Linked DNA regions of Homo sapiens: all the other regions are linked to region 3. The links are contacts of gene promoters, found by promoter capture Hi-C in blood cells and fetal thymus (Javierre and others, 2016). All regions are on one chromosome and are shown on one strand. Each heading gives the region's core, a stretch centred on a gene start or on the middle of the fragment in contact. The rest is flanking DNA. Distances are from core to core; before and after follow the strand shown. Region 1 has its middle 3.2 kb from the start of PLEK2. Region 2 has its middle 9.5 kb from the start of MIR5694. Region 3 holds the start of PIGH (phosphatidylinositol glycan anchor biosynthesis class H).

The links. Contacts are between HindIII fragments. The CHiCAGO score rates a contact against its expected background, and 5 or more counts as called.
Region 1: a contact is called between a fragment that was not itself captured here and the fragment with the promoter of PIGH in region 3, in 1 of 17 cell types (M1 macrophages). The highest score is 5.2, in M1 macrophages.
Region 2: a fragment that was not itself captured here is called in contact with the fragment with the promoter of PIGH in region 3 in 7 of 17 cell types (fetal thymus, naive CD4 T cells, M0 macrophages and 4 more); the score reaches 6.0 in fetal thymus.

The regions. Positions count from the first base shown.
Region 1 is chr14:67,413,764-67,416,980 of GRCh38, reverse strand. It overlaps a transcript of GPHN not described here. Among named protein-coding and RNA genes, the nearest start is that of PLEK2, 3.2 kb to the right of the region's middle. The HindIII fragment of the contact is 1,654 bases long and covers 835-2,488 here.
Region 2 is chr14:67,430,806-67,433,967 of GRCh38, reverse strand. It overlaps a transcript of GPHN not described here. Among named protein-coding and RNA genes, the nearest start is that of MIR5694, 9.5 kb to the left of the region's middle. The HindIII fragment of the contact is 3,254 bases long and covers 1-3,162 here.
Region 3 is chr14:67,599,018-67,602,356 of GRCh38, reverse strand. PIGH (phosphatidylinositol glycan anchor biosynthesis class H) reads left to right here and starts at 2,089. Exons shown (of 4, transcript NM_004569.5): 1 at 2,089-2,333. The coding sequence starts at 2,154. It also overlaps a transcript of GPHN not described here. RefSeq lists an enhancer at 2,092-2,411. The HindIII fragment of the contact is 5,160 bases long and covers 1,073-3,339 here.

The DNA.
Region 1 (3,217 bases), core at 412-2,911, 180 kb after region 3:
TTGGGTGACGTAGAAGTCTCCAATAAGTCACTTGTGGCAGAGGCTGTTTTCTGGTCATGCACAGTAGGACCACTCAATGTTCACAGCTCAGAAGTCCAGTCTTCACCACAGATAGTGTGAGAAGCCTCACCTTTATGGTGGAGCATCTGCCCTGTGAACTGCAGTGTCCCCGGAATTAGTACAAAAGATGCTGTTAATCAACAATGCTGCTGTTAATGGAAAAGATACCTTGTTTACACTGACATATGAGGCCCCAGGGCAGGTCTGTGTGTCACCCATGGCACTGTCCGTGCTTTGTACACGGACATTCTCAGTATCTGTCTCCCTGCTTCAGTGAATGAATGAATGAATTGACAGATGAATGAATATACATTTCTGTTGTAGCAGAGCAACTAGCTGGATGGCCTTGGGCATAGCCACGAATTAGGCAAAATTTCTCTTTAGTCTTTTCCTGCCTGTACTTCTAGCTCCTGTCTCCTCTGGCTTTTTGCCTCTGCCCAATCTTTTCAGTGCCTTCAGGGTGCTCTCCTGGCTGCCCGGGACCCCACACGCCCTCCTTTTCCTACAAATGATGCGCTACTCTGGGACTTCACCGCCCAGTTCTCTAGCAGTTTTCCAGCAACTTCTCAGTTCTGAGTCTCTTCCAGGGGACGTCCCTCTAGCTGGCCGTCCCCCAGGTAGCAGGGCTCAGCCTTGACTGAGATAACACACAGCTTACGCAAGTGGGGGTTGTCCCTGCTGGTTCTGAGAAAATCAGCAAAGCTTTCTACTCAAAGCATGATGTGGGCTGATAAAAAATAAATAAGCAAATACATTTTTAAAATCAGCAAAGCTTCTTGTTTAATTATCTTAAGTTTCAAGGTACATGTGCGGGATGTGCAGGTTTGTTACACAGGTAAATGTGTGCCATGGTGGTTTGCTGCACCTATCAACCCATCACCTAGGTATTAAGCCCAACATGCACTAGCTATTTTTCCTGATGCTCTCCCTCCCGCCACATCCCCTGACAGGCCCCAGTGTGTGTTATTCCCCTCCCTGTGTCCATGTGATCTCAATGTCCAGCTCCCACATACAAGTGAGACCATGCGATGTTTGGTTTTCTGTTCCTGTGTTAGTTTGCTGAGGATAATGGCTTCCAGCTTCATCCAAGTCCCTGCAACGGACATGATCTTATTCCTGTTTTTGGCTGCATAGTATTCCATGGTGTATACGTACCACATTTTCTTTATCCAGTCTAACATTGATGGGCATTTGGGTTGATTCCATGTCTTTGCTATTGTGAATAGTGCTGCAATGAACATACACATGCATGTATCTTTATAATAGAATGATGTATATTCCTGAAAATACTATACTGAATGCTGGCGTAGACGCAGTGAGACTGGCATTGTCATACGCTGCTGGTGAGGATAGCATGTGATACATTTCTAGAAAGCAGTTTTGTGATATGCTTCAAGAATTTTAAAAATTTACACCCTTTAACCTAAAATTATACCTTAGATGTTTATCTGAAATAATCAGAGATCTGGCAAAATGTGTATGTACAGAGATATTTATCATAATACTATTTACACAGTGAAAAAGGAAATTCAACCTACATGGGAATGATTAAATTCAGTCACCATGAAATTTTATGCAGTTATTTAAATTATGTTTTTGAATTACTTTTAATGACCTGGTAAGATACTTATTAGCTATTATAAGTTAAAAAAAAAGGCAGGGTTCAAAAATTTTAAATAAAATTTAATTTAAAAGTATGTGCATATAAACATACTGATCATCTGTCTGAGTGATAGATTCAGGGTGGTTTTATCCCTTTTGGTATTTTCTAAATATTCTATAATATGCACAAATGTATTTTTATGTTCAGAAAAAAATGTAGAAGGATTTTTTGAAGTCTTTTCCAGTTCTGCAGACAGAGCCCTTCCAGGCCTGCAGCCCCCCTCTCACTGCAGGATGCTCTGATGCAGGTCGCTGCTGGGGGCATTGCCCTGTATTTGCCAGGAGCCAGCCTTGAGCTCTGTTAGCCTGTATTCTGGCCCTGGTTTTACCACTAACTGGCTGCAAGACCTTGGACAAGTCATTTTATTTCCCTGGGCTTTGAGGGTCCTCATTTATAAAATGAAGCATCCGGATTTGGTGATCTTTAGGGATTAGATTCTGATTCTGTGATTCCGGTAAACTCAAGAAGTCCAGGCATTTATTGTGAATAAGTTTCCATGATTTATCCTTTTCCACTCTATGTATCTTAAACAGGGGATTCTTATCTGAAGCTAAAGGAATGAATCTCTAATGATAGATTCTCACATCAGGCTGTGAGTCACCTATACTTAAACACAGACCTAATAGTTTTCTGCAACTCAGCACCCTAGGCATTATCTGTCCCTGTCCCTTCGGGACAAAAAGGGGAGGAGCTGAGAGGGCCAGGGACCCTTCCACATCAGCCTCCAGGCCTGAGAGGGAGAGGAGGGGTGTCTCTCTGAAAGCTTCTTGCTCGTCCCTGCCCCCTCCCCCAGCTGTTTACTGCTGTCTGCTTCCTTCTGTCTCCATCCTCTTCCCTATGGGTGAGTTGGGCTTATGTCATCATGGTTCCCTGGTGGGCTGGTGGCTCAGCCACCACAGCCTGGGGAAGGAAGGGGTATGACTCATGCCCCAGATCCAGTGAGTCAGGCAGGGTGGGCTGGACCAGGGGTTTCCTAGGACAGGAAGCAGGTTCTAGGTGTGCCTTAACTTCTTCCTGGCAGGAGCCCTGCCAGGAGAAGGTATCCATCTCTTTCCCATTCCCATTTCTGTGAATTCATTCAAGAACCCCTCCTGCCAAAGAAAATGCCACTTCTTCTAAGCCTCAGAAGATTGTGTCTGGGTGGGGCCAAGACAGCCTCTTTGAGGAAGGAGATGGATAGACCACAGTTAGAGCCGAAGAGGATGAGAACTTCCCAGCTCAACCTCTCAAGTCCTGGCTTTCAGCCCAGCTAGGTTTCAGAGCTGGGACAATTCCTTAGGAGGCAAGAGTATTTGCAATGCCCTGGAGCTGCATAACCTTGGGCAAGTTATTTAACTACTTGGATTCAGTTTCCTTGACTGGAAAATGACATAATAAACACCTCATGGGGTTGTTGTACTTTAGATAAAACCTAGCACCTACTACTACAGGCCTGGCTTCAGAAGGTGACCAGCTGATGTTCATTCTGAATTGGAATGGAAGCCCCACTGCTTT
Region 2 (3,162 bases), core at 287-2,786, 170 kb after region 3:
CATTTAGATCCGTCCATCCTGTCTCTGATATCTAATTTCATCAATAGTCAAAATGTTTTCTTCTCATCACAGTGGAAACACATTTGCTTTCCCATTTTCTCTGGCTTTTTATGACCCACTTAGACGATATTTGTTAAACAGTGATTCTTTCTTGTAGCATTGTGTTGATGCTTATTCATCTTATATCAAGTCTTTAAATAGCTTGAATTTGTTTCTGTAGAGTATGTCTCTTCTATTACCCTGGCCAACTTTTCTTGTCTTTACCCCAGTGAAATATAGTGATGACTGCTTTTTTAAGTTTACCCTCCTCCTTCTTTTTCCCCCACAAAAATTTTTTTGATATTTTGTCCATTCATACTCCCGATGAGTTTTAATGGGTTTGTTGTTGTTGTTGTTGTTGAATTATAGGATGCGTCTCATTTGTCTTTATATTCCATTTTAGTTTTAACTATTTAGACTTCACAATTAGGATCAAAGTACATCTCTGTATTCTTTCACGTTTTCCTCTATACCTCCAACTTTAAAATTTTCTTTGAAAAAAAAATCATTTATTCCAAGTTAAATTAATTCTGAACCACTAAATTTTTGTGTGTGAATAAGCCATCTTTCTCCCTCCCTTTTCTCTTCTCTCTGTCCCACTCTTACTCTCATTCTCATGCTCACTAAAATACAAGTATTTTGACACCAAACCATGTAGCTACCATGGTATATACTTCCACCCTCCAGGCCCAGCACCTGTTTCTGGGCATCTGCCAGCAGCCATCCATCAGCTCTGAGGATACCTCTGTGTGCCTTGTTCCCTTTTTCTGGCCCTCCTTGTAAGATGGGCATCAACTTCCTGGGTTGGGACATGGCTGGTTAAGGAAGAGTCAGAATGTTCTAAAAGTGCCCTCCCTATTTATTGAACAAAACAGAAAAACAGAGAGGACTACGTTGAATGGTGTCTCCTTAACATTCAAGCTCAACAAGAAGCTCAGAATGTGACCTTATGTGGAAACAGGGTCTCTGCAGACATAATTACTTAAAATGAGGTCATACCTAGATGAGGGTGGGCCCTAAATCAAATGACTGGGAACTTTATAAAAGAGAAAACAAAGACACACAGACAGGGAAAACACCACATGCGACCACCAAAACAGAGATTGGAGTGATGCCCCTACAAACCCAGGACCACCCAGGTTGCCGGCAACCACCATAAGGCAGCAGAGAAGCCCGAGATTCTCCCTCAGAGCTTCCAGAAAGAACCAACTCTGCCAACACCTTGGTTTCGGACTTCTGTCCTCCTGAACATGAGAGAATACATTTCTGTTTATTTCAGCCCCACAGTTTGTGGCAATTTGTCATGGCAGCCCTAGAACACCAGGCTCTTCACATAGTCTGTCCTGAGAGCTTGCCCGCTGCTGACTTTTAAAGGTACGATGCTCTAAAACACAGAAGAGAGGTGTCCTTGTAAACGTGTCTCAGAGCAGAGAATGAACAGTCCATTCTGGAAGGTAAATACTCAAGACAGGAGATATTTTTCTGTTTCCTGACCAACTGCAAGTCTCTCTTTGCAGAAGGCGAACTATTTATGGCACATTCCAGGTTCTAAGAACCAGGGCTCGTTCGCCAAGGAAGGCAGTGTGGTGTAATTCAAAGGCTTCAGAAGTTGGGCTCTGACCACCAGGGTCTAAATCTTGGTCCTGCCATTCTTTAGATGCCTAACTCTGGGCAGATCATTTAACCTCTTGGAGCTGGATTTCCCATCTGTAAGTGGAGACAATAATGATTTAGGGCCAACATATCTTAGGGAGTTGTTGCTGGGATCCGACGAGATAATTTATGAGCACACATTCTTTAAGCTGGAAAGCACTGGGCAGATGTTACCAATTCATAGTGGCTGCCTGTGGGGCAGGAGAGACACACTTCTCACTATATTCCATTTTGTTCTATGTGACATTTTCATGTACATATTGAAAAGAATATGTTAAAAAATTTAAGGGTAATCACTGTGAGCGCAACATGAACACATTAAATAAAGATGTTTGCTTTTTATCCTATTAAAAGATTTTAATATGCAAAATGAAGAAGAAAAAGTAGATAAAATTGTGCTCCAGTTCCAAGCTCACCCAAAGATGACATCTAGAGTATGGGCACTGACTGCCCCCTGCGGAAACCTCTGTTCCCTTCCCCCACCCCAGTTTCCATGTGGGAGCTTCTGGGACACAACCCAGCTCACATTTCCCCAACCTTTTTTGCCGCTGTTTTGGTCTGCTGCTGCTGCTGCTGCTGTTGTTGAGTTGGGGTCTCACTCTGTCACCCCAGCTGGAGTGCAATGGTGGCATCTCAGCTCACTGCAGCCTGGACCTCCTGGGCTCAAGCGATCCTCCCACCTCAGCCTCCAGAGTAGCTGGGACCACAGATGTGTGCCACAACACTGGGCTAATTTTTAAAATGTTTTGGGTAGGGATGGGGTCTCATAATGTTGCCCAGGCTGGTCTCAAACTCCTGGGCTCAAGCGATTCTCCTACTTTGGCCTCCCAAAATGCTGGGATTACACTAAACCGTTTTTTTTTTTTTTTTTTTTTTTTTTTTTTGAGACAGAGTCTCACTCTGTCACCCAGGCTGGAGTGCAGTGGCGCGATCTCGGCTCACTGCAACCTCCGCCTCCCAGGTTCAAGCAATTCTCCTGCCTCAGCCTGCCGAGTAGCTGGGATACAGGCAAGCGCCACCATGCCCAGCTAATTTTTGTATTTTTAGTAGAGATGGGGTTTCACTATGTTGGTCAGGCTGGTCTCGAACTCCTGACCTCGTGATCCACCCGCCTCGGCCTCCCAAAGTGCTGGGATTACAGGCGTGAGCCACCACGCCCAGCCTATGCTGAACCCTTTTTATCTGCTCTTGTTAGCCCAGATTTGGTGAACTAGAATTAGCTGTTCATGCCTGCCATGGATTTCCCATGGTTTGATTTGTCTTTCTGAAATCTAGAGAGAATAGGGACTCTCCTGCCAGGTTGTTGGGGCACCTATAGGATTGTATGTAAACACAAAGGCGTATTTGGGAAGCTGGTGCCCCGATCCCCAGCCCTGCACACTTTGAGGCTTTATGCTCATACCAAAGTCACAGCAGGAAGGGACTGCTTTGATCACAGAATCCTCAGGGGATCAGAATGGGACGTTAAGC
Region 3 (3,339 bases), core at 840-3,339:
GACCCAGTGGGAGGTGATTGGATCATGGGGACGGATTTCCCCCATGCTGGTCTCGTGATGCTGAGTGAGTTCTCTCACGAGATCTGACGGTTTAAAAATGTGGCACTTCCCCACTCCCCTCCTGCTGCCATGTAAGACATGCCTGGCTTCCCCTTTGCCTTCCACCATTATTGTAAGTTTCCTGAGGCCTTGCCAGCCATGTGGAACTGTGAGTCAATAAACCTCTTTTCTTTATAAATTACCGAGTCTCAGGTAGTTCTTTATAGCAGTGTGAAAACGGACTAATAAAAGGAGTGTATTAATTGTCAGATTCGGGGCACAGAAATAAAACTAGAAAAATAAAGAAGTGCTTGAAGAAATCCTTTAGGAAAAAAGAAAGGGAAATAAAATTCTGAATGAAGATGAAGAAACGGAACCTTTCATCAGAGAGACTTAAAGCTGGTGAGACCTTTATGCCATGGATCTTTTTTTTTTTTTAAATGAATATAGACACAGTCTTGCTCTGTTGCCCAGGCTGGTCTTGAACTCCTAAGTTCAAGTGATTCTCCTGCCTCAGCCACCCGAACAGCTGGGATTACAGGCATGCTCCACCATGCCCAGGTAATTTTTTTGTATTTTTAGTAGAGATGGTTTCACCATGTTGGCCAGGCTGATCTTGAACTCCTGACCCAAGTGATCTGCCCTCCTCAGCCTCCCAAAGTGCTGAGATTACAGGCATGTGCCACCATGCCCAGCCCATCACAAGTGTTTTGACAGTCCACATAGCCACTCCTGGGCCACATCAGAAGTAAAAATGGAACTCATAGGCCACTATTACTCATGAGTTTAGTAATTTTATTATCCATTTCTTCTGCATCTCCCGCTCCTGCTTAATTCCCAGCCAGGTCTTGCCTGTCTACCACGGTCCAAGCAGTCATTTGGGAGACAGAACTCCCAGGCAGTGAAATCCAAACTCCTTACCAGACCCTACAAGACCCTCTTGGATCTGACCCCTACCTGCCTCCCCAGCTTCCAACTGTTTTCCCCACACACCAACCTTTCTCGCCTTTTGATTATTTCATTAAGCCAAGCTTGTTCCAACTTCGAGGGGTTTGCCTTTCCTGGTCTTTCTTTCTGGCAAATTCCTCCTCCAGAGCTCCTTCAGTCCTGTCTGGCTCGTCACCCTTGTAACTCAGTGTCCTCTTACTTAGAGACTTCGCCTGACTGCCCTATGTAAAGTCCTCAGTCCATCCCTGCCAGTCAGCATAGTATTGCCAACGATACTCTCTTATTTCCATATTGTCTCCTACTAGAAAGGAAGCTGCCCGAGGGCAGAGACTGTCATCAACATCGTTCACTGCTGCATCCTCAAGCACCTCAAACTACCCGGCACAGGAAAAGAGTAAGTGAAATGAATACCCGTGGGCTCTCCTTGCGGCTCACTCTGGCTTAGAGAAATCGGCTTGCCAAGCAAAAGCATGATTAAAACTGTGGGTTTGGGCTGGGTGCGGTGGCTCACGCCTGTAATCCCAGCACTTCGGGAGGCCGAGGCGGGCGAATCACCTGAGGTCAGGAGTTTGAGACCAACCTGGCCAACATGGTGAAACCTGTCTCTACTAAAAATACAAAAATCAGCAGGGCGTGGTGGCGCGCGCCTGTAATCCCAGCTACTCAGGAGGCTTAGGCAGGAGAATCGCTTGAACCCGGGGGAAGCAGGTTGCAGTGAGCCGACGTCGCGCCATTCCGTCTCAAAACAAAAACAAACTGTGGGTTTGTTTTGAGACAGGGTCTTGCTCTCTCGCACAGGCTAGAGAGCAGGGGCATGATCTCCGCTCACTGCAACCTCGACCTCCCAGGCTCAAGCGATCCTCCCGCCTTGGCCTCCCAGTGCTGGACTACAGGCCTGAGTCAACGCGCCCGGTCTAAAAACGATTTTAATCTTTCCACTTAACTATTGCCCCGACGAGGTTTTTTCGAAGACAGTCAAGGCCGGCCCGGAAGAACGCACAACCATCAGCCCCCAGCAGAGCTCTCGGCGCGCAACTGAGGCTGCGCAGGCTTAGGGCGGGGCGTGGTGACGCGGCTGCCGGAAGCGGGTCTGGAGCGGGCGAGACGGCCAGGGCCGGCGAGCGCAGTGCAGCGCCGCGCGGTGCGGGCGGCCGAGTGGGGGCGTCATGGAGGATGAGCGGAGCTTTTCGGATATCTGCGGCGGCCGCCTGGCGCTGCAGCGCCGCTACTACTCCCCGTCCTGCCGGGAATTCTGCCTCAGCTGCCCTCGGCTCTCGCTGCGTTCGCTCACCGCTGTCACCTGCACGGTGTGGCTGGCGGCCTACGGACTCTTCACCCTCTGCGAGGTAATGGCAAGTCGGCCCCTCCCCGCGCTCGAAGGAGGGGGTTCGGCTTTGGGAGGGTCTTTGGGGTCTTTGGTCGAGCCCGGACCTCTGGTCGGCCCCTCCTACAGTGATAGGACAGGAGGGCGGGAACTCACGGGTTCTGGGGACGATATTCCGCTGCTGGACAGCTCTTTAAATGACGTTTAGTGAAATGTGTGCTCCTGGATAGTACATTCCCCTTCCGTGGCTGTGCTCTGCTCCGTGGGTTCACTCAGCATACATCTAGTTCTTGCGCGACGGCCTAAAACTTTAACTGCCATGTGTTCTATGTAGTATAGGCGCGCAGTAATTTAATTCCAAGAGTTCAAGGAACTACTAAGTGGGTCTTCCTCGTCCATCCCTTCTGCTCCTCAAAGTAGTACTGCTAACAATACTTTACGTAGACTTCCACAAACTGTCTTTGCCTCCACAAGTGTGTGTGTTTATCTGTGTGTATAGATAGAGTGTTATAGTTCTTCCTAATCTCTGTTTTTCAAGGGAGTTTTTTAACCCTCCCTCCTCCCAAACCCTTCCCCAATTTCAAGTACTTTCTAAAGGTTTATGAAATTTTGGACGTGTGTGATAGCTGTGCTCAATTTCCAGATTCATTCCTGTTTTCTCTGAGCCTCAATTTTCTACATCTCTAAAATAGAATTCATGCCTGCCATACCAGCTTCATGATATTGTGAGGGTTAAATGCAGTAACTTTGTGACAGCTCTCAAATAAAAAGAATTATCCTAATTTTCAGGATAAGTTCTAGTTTCATATGTAGTGCCTGAATTGAATGTATTATCCCAGAAGTGATCTAATCAGAGCTAAGTACAGCAGGGCTATTTATTTTTGTAACTTGGATATTGTTTCCATTACTGCATCCATTCGCTTTTTTGCTGTCAAAGCGTGTTTCAGAGCATGGTAATTTAGCATAGAAATATGCAGAATTAAGACTGCCCTAATTGCAGGAAACTATCTAACTATCTAAACCGTATG